Regions from separate parts of the Homo sapiens genome. Here region 1 is linked to region 2. Evidence: promoter capture Hi-C in 16 types of primary human blood cells and fetal thymus (Javierre and others, 2016). All regions are on one chromosome and are shown on one strand. Each heading gives the region's core, a stretch centred on a gene start or on the middle of the fragment in contact. The rest is flanking DNA. Distances are from core to core; before and after follow the strand shown. Region 1 holds the start of DTX3 (deltex E3 ubiquitin ligase 3). Region 2 overlaps NEMP1 (nuclear envelope integral membrane protein 1).

Region 1 (3,839 bases), core at 608-3,107, 550 kb after region 2:
TTAGACATAAAGCTGGGCATCAGCAACTGGCCTGTGGTGATGCAAAGCTGCTTTGCTCTGTATCTGGCTGGACTGATCTGTCTCACAAGAAGCCATGAGGCCATAGGGAGAAGCTCCCTCTCCCCTTCATCTTCTGCTCCAAAGGTGGTAGCAAGAGGAGTACCCAGTTAGGGGTTGGAGCCCCCATATAACATCTTCCTGTCAGAAGACTGATGGATCTTTTTCATTCCAACCATCTCCCTTTCCCCCGATGAATGCAATAAAACTCTGTGACACCAGCAACCATTGCTCTTTAGAAATGGGTTTTCTGATCATATGGCTGATGTGTTATGGGCAGTATGGATGTCTTCATTTGTTGCTTCTGTTTTTCATCTTTTTTGTTTTATTAATAAAAATTTATGTATTTGCTCCTGTTACTATAATAATACAGGGAATAAATTATTCAATCCAAATTTCTGTACAGAAATGCCTTTTTTTTTTTTTTTTTAAATTTCACTTCTCTCAGGGAGCCTGTGTTTAAGGGTGCAGAGACCAGCTGAAGAATTCTGGTGTTCAAGGTGTTGGGCCCCTAACTAAGGATGTGGGTTTCTAGACAGATGGCTGTGAACTTTTTTAAAAAGGCTGTGAAGGGTGTGCACGGGAATGGAAAACTTAGTCTTTAACCTTGTGGGAGGTCAGCGGTAGTGAGGGCCAGGGAAGAGTAGGGTGATGGGACCCTTCCTCTTCCCAGAGTTCTGGGCTTGCTAACACTCCATCTTTGTAAAGGTGAGTAGGCCTCTCAGCCCACCAGCTAAAAGAAAAGGAATCTAGTATTCCCCCAGGCTTCCTGGGAAAGCTGTCCTCTTCCTGGAGGGAAGGAAGAGTACAGCAGGGTCCTGGGAAAGTGAAGAAAGTGACTAGCCCTCCAGTCTAGAGGGGGGAGTGAAAAAGGGGTGGATGAATAGAGGTTGTTGCCAGTTTGGGAGATTCCTGCCTGTCTTGGCTGAGGAAGTCTTTTGGCTGGTGGAAAAACCTGGCTTGATGTGGCCCCAGGGAAGTGAGTTGGATTGGGCGGAGACTGCTTGATGTGGGAAGCAGAGCAGAGCTTTTTTTTTTTCTTCTTTGAGAGTTTTTAACTCTATTTGAACCATACACTTGACACCACCACCACCTCGAGCCACTTTTTAAAAAATGTATTCGCTTCCCATTCTGCACCAGCCTCCATATCCCTGTTTGTGGAAAGAAAAATCAGAGGCACTGACCAATGATCATCTGAGAGCAGGTTGTGGGGGTCATAGGAGGTAACAATCTAGAAAGAGGCAGGAGATGAGGGAGGGGATTGAAATAGTTTAGTACCCGGATTTGTTTATTTTTTAGAGCCAATGCTTTTCTTTTTACTATGACTCTTCCCATCCCACATTGTTCCTCAAAGGCCCTTCTACCATAAGGATTCAAAAAATTGCCGCCCTCCCCCCGAATCCCCATATACCCACCAACACTTCACCCACCCATCCACCACCAGCTCCTGGGAGCTGCTACGCAGCTGGCTGGGAAAGAAAAGGGAGAGTGCTCCGCCGGGAGCGGGGAGCGAGTAGGGTGGCGTCTCCAGGGATTTAACCTCCTACCCTCAGTTCCATGACGCCACCCCCTCCCTCCAAAGACTGGGACAGCGCCTCCATTTTTGTTTTGGGGAGGAAGGGCAGGGGCTTGCGGATAGAAGGGGGTCAAAGGAACGGTGATTATCACCTGTGAGGGGAAAGGGGGTGCTGTCCTCCCTCCTTCCCTTTTCCTCAGCCTGCACCCCCTGCAATCCCCCACCTTTCGGGGTCTCCCCCTCCTTGTTGCTAAGGCCCGGACCGTCATCCCAGCAACAGCCTCAGTCATGTGACCGGCAATGGCGGCGCTGACGAGAGGTAGGTGAGCCCGGCGCCCCCCACACCCACCGCGCGCCCCCCGGGCCCCGCTCGCACCCCTCACGCGCCCCCCGCTCCCCCGGCGCCCCCTCCTCCACCTCCCCTCCCCGCGCGCGGCTCCGGGCTCCCCGCTCCGTGCCCGGCCGATCATCTTTCTAGCACCCTCCAGCCTTGGCCTCCATTCGGGGGTTCTGAGGGCTGCGATCGGGCCGACATGCACCCCCACCCGGCGGTGGGGATCCGGGGGCTTTGGCTACTGAGGGATGTGGGGAGTTGGTTCCGGGTCGGGTCTTGGAGGAGGCCGTGGGGGGAGGGCGGGAGCTGCTTCAGTGGATGCCCCCAGGGACCCTTGCCCATCCGGGCTGTGCCTCCCTCTGGCCTCTGTCTGGAGGGAGAGACTGGTTCCTTGTCCGGCCTGGGTTGCCACAGAGGAATCACAGACCCACCCTAAACTGGGGCCCCGCCTCCCTTTTCTGTGCCAGCAGGACTTGGACCTAGGACACCTAGGTCCTGGGTCCCCCGTGATGGGGAGAGAAGTGTTGCATCGCGGATAGACTGTATGGGCTGAGACTCTAGGGTTCCATTTTCACTTATGAATCTCGAGGTGCATCTGGCCTTGGGGGACGATGATGGAGGCATGAAGGGACAGCTGCTCCTTCTTGGATCAGTCAATAAATGGAGGTCACACTAATGGCCCTTCTTTCTGTTTGAGCTGCATTTGGAAGTGTTGTGGAGACAGCCCCGTAGCCCAATGCGACCAGACTCAGGGAAAACATCAGGCCCCTCCAGCTGAGCCCTTGTGTGAGCCCCGCCCCTCCCTAAATGCCAGACTTGGGAGCTGACAGACAGCACTGCCTGTGCTGGGTTTAAAAGGTGACAATGAGAACTTTGTTATTGCAGGGGCTGCTGCCACTTTGTTCACATCCTTAACAGACTTCAGCAGAAGGGACTGAGTTAGCTCTCAAGGAAGGCTCCCTGGCAATAGGGGCTGAATTATTTGGCAATGTGGAGCAGGCGAGGAGTTGGGGAGCATAGGAAATATTCCGGTCCATGTGATCTGAGGGAGGTGGCAAGAAGACCTCCACCTGTGTGGGCGTTTTCTTTCCTGACTTCTCTTATGTGTGCCCTAGGCTTTCTTGGGGGCCTCAGAGCTGGGGAAGAAAGGAGGAAGGTTAGCATGTTGAAGTTCCTTCTTGAGCAACTTGGGGAGAAGCTGATAATGGAATTCTGCAGAGAAGAGAGGAGATGGAAGGGGAGTTTTTATTTCTGGGTTGGCTGAGGGGAATGGTAACATTTGCCATCATAACTTTTTACCCTTCCCCCACTCCCAGTCCTGGTCAGCTGAGTGGAAATAGAAGGATTTCTGCTGCCATCATCTTCCATGGGCTTTCCAGGTATCTCCCCCGCAAGGGATCCTCAATTTTCACCCTTAAACTGGTTTCCTTCATTCCATGTTCCAAGTAATGCCATTCTTAGTAACCTATACCCAGGTTTCTGTCTCTGTTCCATGGGCTGCTGGGTTGGGGGCCATGGGAATTGGGAGAAGGGGTTTCTCACTTTCCTTCCATTTTTCCGCCCTACCAGGTCACACGACCTACAAGTAGGGAGCAGGGAAAGAAGAGTGAGCCTGCATGCCAATTCTAAGCTCTTCAGGATCAAAGTAAGCAAAAAGGAGGGGCAAAGAGTCTCCCTCCCCTTTAAACAGCCCATTTTTCCCCAAGAGGTGGGAGGGGCAAGTTGTTTCTATGATCTGGGAGAAATGACAGGAGAAACAAGACTGATACTTGGCTTAGATGATAATATAGCTCTGGAAACTTTTTTGCTCTTCAGTGGGTTTTGGGTTTGGAAGATAAGGGGAGACAGAATATGAATTTGGGTGAAGGGTTGGGGATTAGGCTTTGAGAAAACAGAGGTAATAGAGGGTTTGGAAGGAACCTGAAGTAGGAG
Region 2 (3,829 bases), core at 485-2,984:
TTCAGAGGTGATTTCACCATTTTCAAATTATCATCAAGAGTGTGAAAGAGGAAGATGACACACACGTGGGATGGTGTGGAAATCCAAAGCCCCACATTTTGGGAGTCTGTGACCACTCCCATCTGCCACTAAAGCTACGAGTTGGTGTTGGCATGAATCTGCTTTGTTTATTCCCAGCAGGCTCTGGCTCGTGTCACATAAGGCACCAACATCCTTTTCAAGGTAGTAACCATCTAGAATCAACTCAATTGTAACCTGAATTCATAAGCTTAAGTCACCAAAAGACATCACTGGGTCATAATTATATAGGTTCCCCTAAAAAAATAAAAAAAAAATCAATTTCTGCTATGTAGAAAAAGAAACAAAAGGTTTAGGTGCCTTTGCCTTGTGCAATGGATATTTCATATGTTTATTAATTGGTTTCAGTTAATATGTAATATGAAGGCATGATAAATGTGTCAAACTGTTCTCTTGTTTCAGATACAATTCTTGGCATTTCAATATAGGTTATTATCTCATATGTCAGACTTGAGTCCAGAGAATACTAGAAGGACATTTAATTTCCTTTCCTCCTCCTTCCTTTCACTACTCAATTCAAAGAAAAGTTATGAGTACACAGCTAGGAACCATTTTTACGTAGGCATCCATCTGAGCCCATCTTGTTTTTTTTTTCTAAAACAACAAAAAGACTAAGGACAATTACATAATGCATTCCCAAGCCTTTTATGGATATCAGGGCCTGGGGGGACTATCTGGCCTATTTGGGTTCTTTCATTCACCAAAATTCTATTATACATGCCAAGGGTTAAAGGGAACACCATCAGTCAAGAGACGGCTGGGCCCTAGAATGGAATCTATTAGCATAAAATGGAACAGTGGGACCCAAAGAGCTATCAGCAAAATTCCCTTTGTAACAGACGTAAAAATCATGAATTTGAGGGGAAAAATAAACTAGTTTTGGTGGGATGCAGTGGCTAACAGGAATTACTTATTAGAAGGTAATGAAGTTGCTAAATTTTCCTTGTTTTTGATCCCTGTGTTCTGTTGGTCTCTTGAAGCAATCTGAGTGGGAAAGGAAAGTGAAAGAAATGTTTTATGCCAGCTGCCTCTTGTATTCCCATTAATGGGAGTCTCTACATTAATGCTCTACATAATTTGGTCAGACTGATGAGAGGCAATAGATTTCCAATGCTGATGAGATCCAGAGCCCTGGAGCCCATTTATGGCTTGACATTCACCCAGCAAGACGCTGACGTGGCAGCAAACACGGCTCCAATGTCCAGCTTACCTCATAGTTATCCCTTCAATCCTTCTTGATGAGATTGGTCTGAGAGATGAGACTGTACTGAAATCACAAGAGCTATAACTGCCAGAGAAAAATTAAATGGGGTCTTCAAGTAGTGACTGAGCCAGCAAACTAAGTGGCCAAGAGGGAGACAAGAGCAGCTCCTAAAGAAGGTTGAAGTCAAGCAATCTCCGGAACACAGAGGATCTGAAGCATCTGGGCAGAGCCACAGGCAGGCAGGGCAAGGACACACAGCACACCAGAGCAGCACCGTCCTTCACTGTGTGAGAGCAACTCTCAGGCTGCAGAACCAATTGCCATCTCCACTGCCTACAGCTCAGGTCTCCAACTACCAGATAGGGAGTAAAAAACAGTTTGATTTTATTCACCTCAAGTCTAAACACGGTGGAAAAAAAACTGGTCTAGAGATGGAAACTATATTTCATGGGGGTTTATTAAACAGAGAAAGAGGAGAATCTTTCACAATTTCACAGTGCTTTCTCATTGAAATAAAGACATGATCAGGAAAAGTCACCCTTATAGGCAAGCTATCACCTCCCTAAGTAGGGGAGGCACCAAAATCTCCAGAGAATCCTGAGACCACTTGCACGAGTTGAATTATTTTTTAAAATAAACTTATGCTTAAATATGCTAGGTCTCAATTTCTATAAATAAGGTAAAAAATAGTATATTTCAGAAGTTTTAATAGTTCTTTGTAGAGAGAGAACATTTTACCATGTACATAATTCACAAGGGTATAAAGGTTTCCCAATGTAAAGTTCCTTTTACCCTTCAACTGTAACCCATAGCATCTGCCCAAATACTGCTCATTTTTCACTTTCTACTATATGTCTCTTTCCTGCCAACTGAGGTAGTTGTCACTTAGGACAGTTTAAGGCTCTGGAAAACACTGGTGGAAATAATCAACTGCCCACCTGGAGGGCAGTCTCAGAGCTGACCCTTTGGAAGTCTGCAATGGAGCTAGGCCTTTCAAAATTACCACGCTAAATGGCTGGTCTAAAGGAGTCATTACGGCTTTTTAAAAAATCATCTGCCTTTTTCCATCATCTTGGTGAGCCAGTAAGTCTGGTGCTGTGCGCTTGCCATGACCATCTATCTTCCTGGCTAAGGTAATTACAGACTTTTCCAGGGTATAAGGGTGAAGACCACAAAGAAAAAGAACCAAGTAAATGACAGACACTTGAGAATTTGCTTCCTCACAGATGACATTGCTGGTTTATAAGGGGTACTTTGCAATGGCAAAAGAATCTGAAACTAATGCTACTGCAATAACAGGCAGCATACATCTCAGGTCAGAAACGCAATCATAAATAAGTGTAAGTTCATGGAAACTTGACAGCTGAATGAGCACCCAGAGGCATGAAGATAACCTGGAGCCTATTTCCTGGCAATGCAAATTGTGGCTGCTGCATAACTACAAATTGTGTATCAAGAAACTACATAGTTTCAAGGCTTAAAAATTACCCAGATTTGGGGGAGTATGGGTGGTGAGAAAAGGCTGAAAGGAATGGACAGAGCATGTAGACAAAGGAAGGGAAAGGAAAAGGAGACAGTTTCCTGATTTCATAGCAACTCAAAGATAACATGACCCAATGACAGGAAAATGGAGAACGTATAAAAAGCATCCAAATCCCCTAAACAAGATGACTTCTCCTAGCTAGCAGGAATAATGCTACTCTGAACATACATAGTTCACAGGTAAGGGAACTGACCCTTCCTGAAAGGGCAAAGGCAGGGTAAGGAAGAATGGGAAGAGAAGAATACAAATGTTTTTTAAGATGGAATTGAAAGTTGAATATAATAAAAAGCCCAGTACATCTCACCTGCAGAAGAGCCTACAGGCATGTTCCTAAAGGCAAATAGGACTTTCTATCATATGTATGAGAACTAAATCAAAGCTTAAAACAACAGCTCCTGGGGCTTTAATGGATAATCCATATTAATAAATATGTAGGGGCCTAGGGGGTGTGTCACTCTGGAGCACTTGCTGGTTCTGGAACATGAGTTTGTTATGTTTTTTAAAAGACATTCATTTAAAAAACAAAACAATAAAAATCTATTTTCCTCCCAAAACAGTTAAATCAATAATTATTCTAAAGTCACTGAAATAAAAGCTGGAGTGAAGGAGGCTCAGATTTGTGGATTTCTCTCTGGAAGTTGCAGCCTATAGTCTAAAAGCATTCCTGCACTTAACAACAGTTCTTACTTTGGAGAGCCAGCCAGTGACAGAAATGCCATGATTGAATCAACTTTCAAGAAGGAGCTAGAATGCCATGCTAGCTGTGGCCATCCAATTTCTCTGGAAACATAAAAGTGGGCTGTTAGCTTAACCAATGGGAAGTGAACTACCCAGCATTCACTACTTTATCCACTCTCCTTCCTCAGGGATCCCATAGAGACCTCCCATTTCCAAAGGGAGGCCTTTTTAGGCCTCTTATTTCAGTAGGAGAATTTCTACCCTATCTATCTCACTCTGTTTCAAAGGGTTGAAAGCAATTGCACAACACATGCAACATGGACCAA

Evidence for each region. Contacts are between HindIII fragments. The CHiCAGO score rates a contact against its expected background, and 5 or more counts as called.
Region 1: a contact is called between the fragment with the promoter of DTX3 here and a fragment that was not itself captured in region 2, in 1 of 17 cell types (neutrophils). The highest score is 5.4, in neutrophils.

The regions. Positions count from the first base shown.
Region 1 is chr12:57,602,967-57,606,805 of GRCh38, forward strand. It overlaps DTX3 (deltex E3 ubiquitin ligase 3), which reads left to right and starts at 1,858. Exons shown (of 7, transcript NM_178502.4): 1 at 1,858-1,892; 2 at 2,605-2,765; 3 at 3,224-3,286; 4 at 3,477-3,552. The coding sequence starts at 3,552. PIP4K2C (phosphatidylinositol-5-phosphate 4-kinase type 2 gamma) reads left to right here. Exons shown (of 10, transcript NM_024779.5): 10 at 1-452. RefSeq lists enhancers at 1,228-1,739, 1,740-2,252. The HindIII fragment of the contact is 28,357 bases long and covers 1-3,839 here.
Region 2 is chr12:57,056,011-57,059,839 of GRCh38, forward strand. NEMP1 (nuclear envelope integral membrane protein 1) reads right to left here. Exons shown (of 9, transcript NM_001130963.2): 9 at 1-3,829. Among named protein-coding and RNA genes, the nearest start is that of MYO1A, 7.8 kb to the left of the region's middle. The HindIII fragment of the contact is 2,936 bases long and covers 267-3,202 here.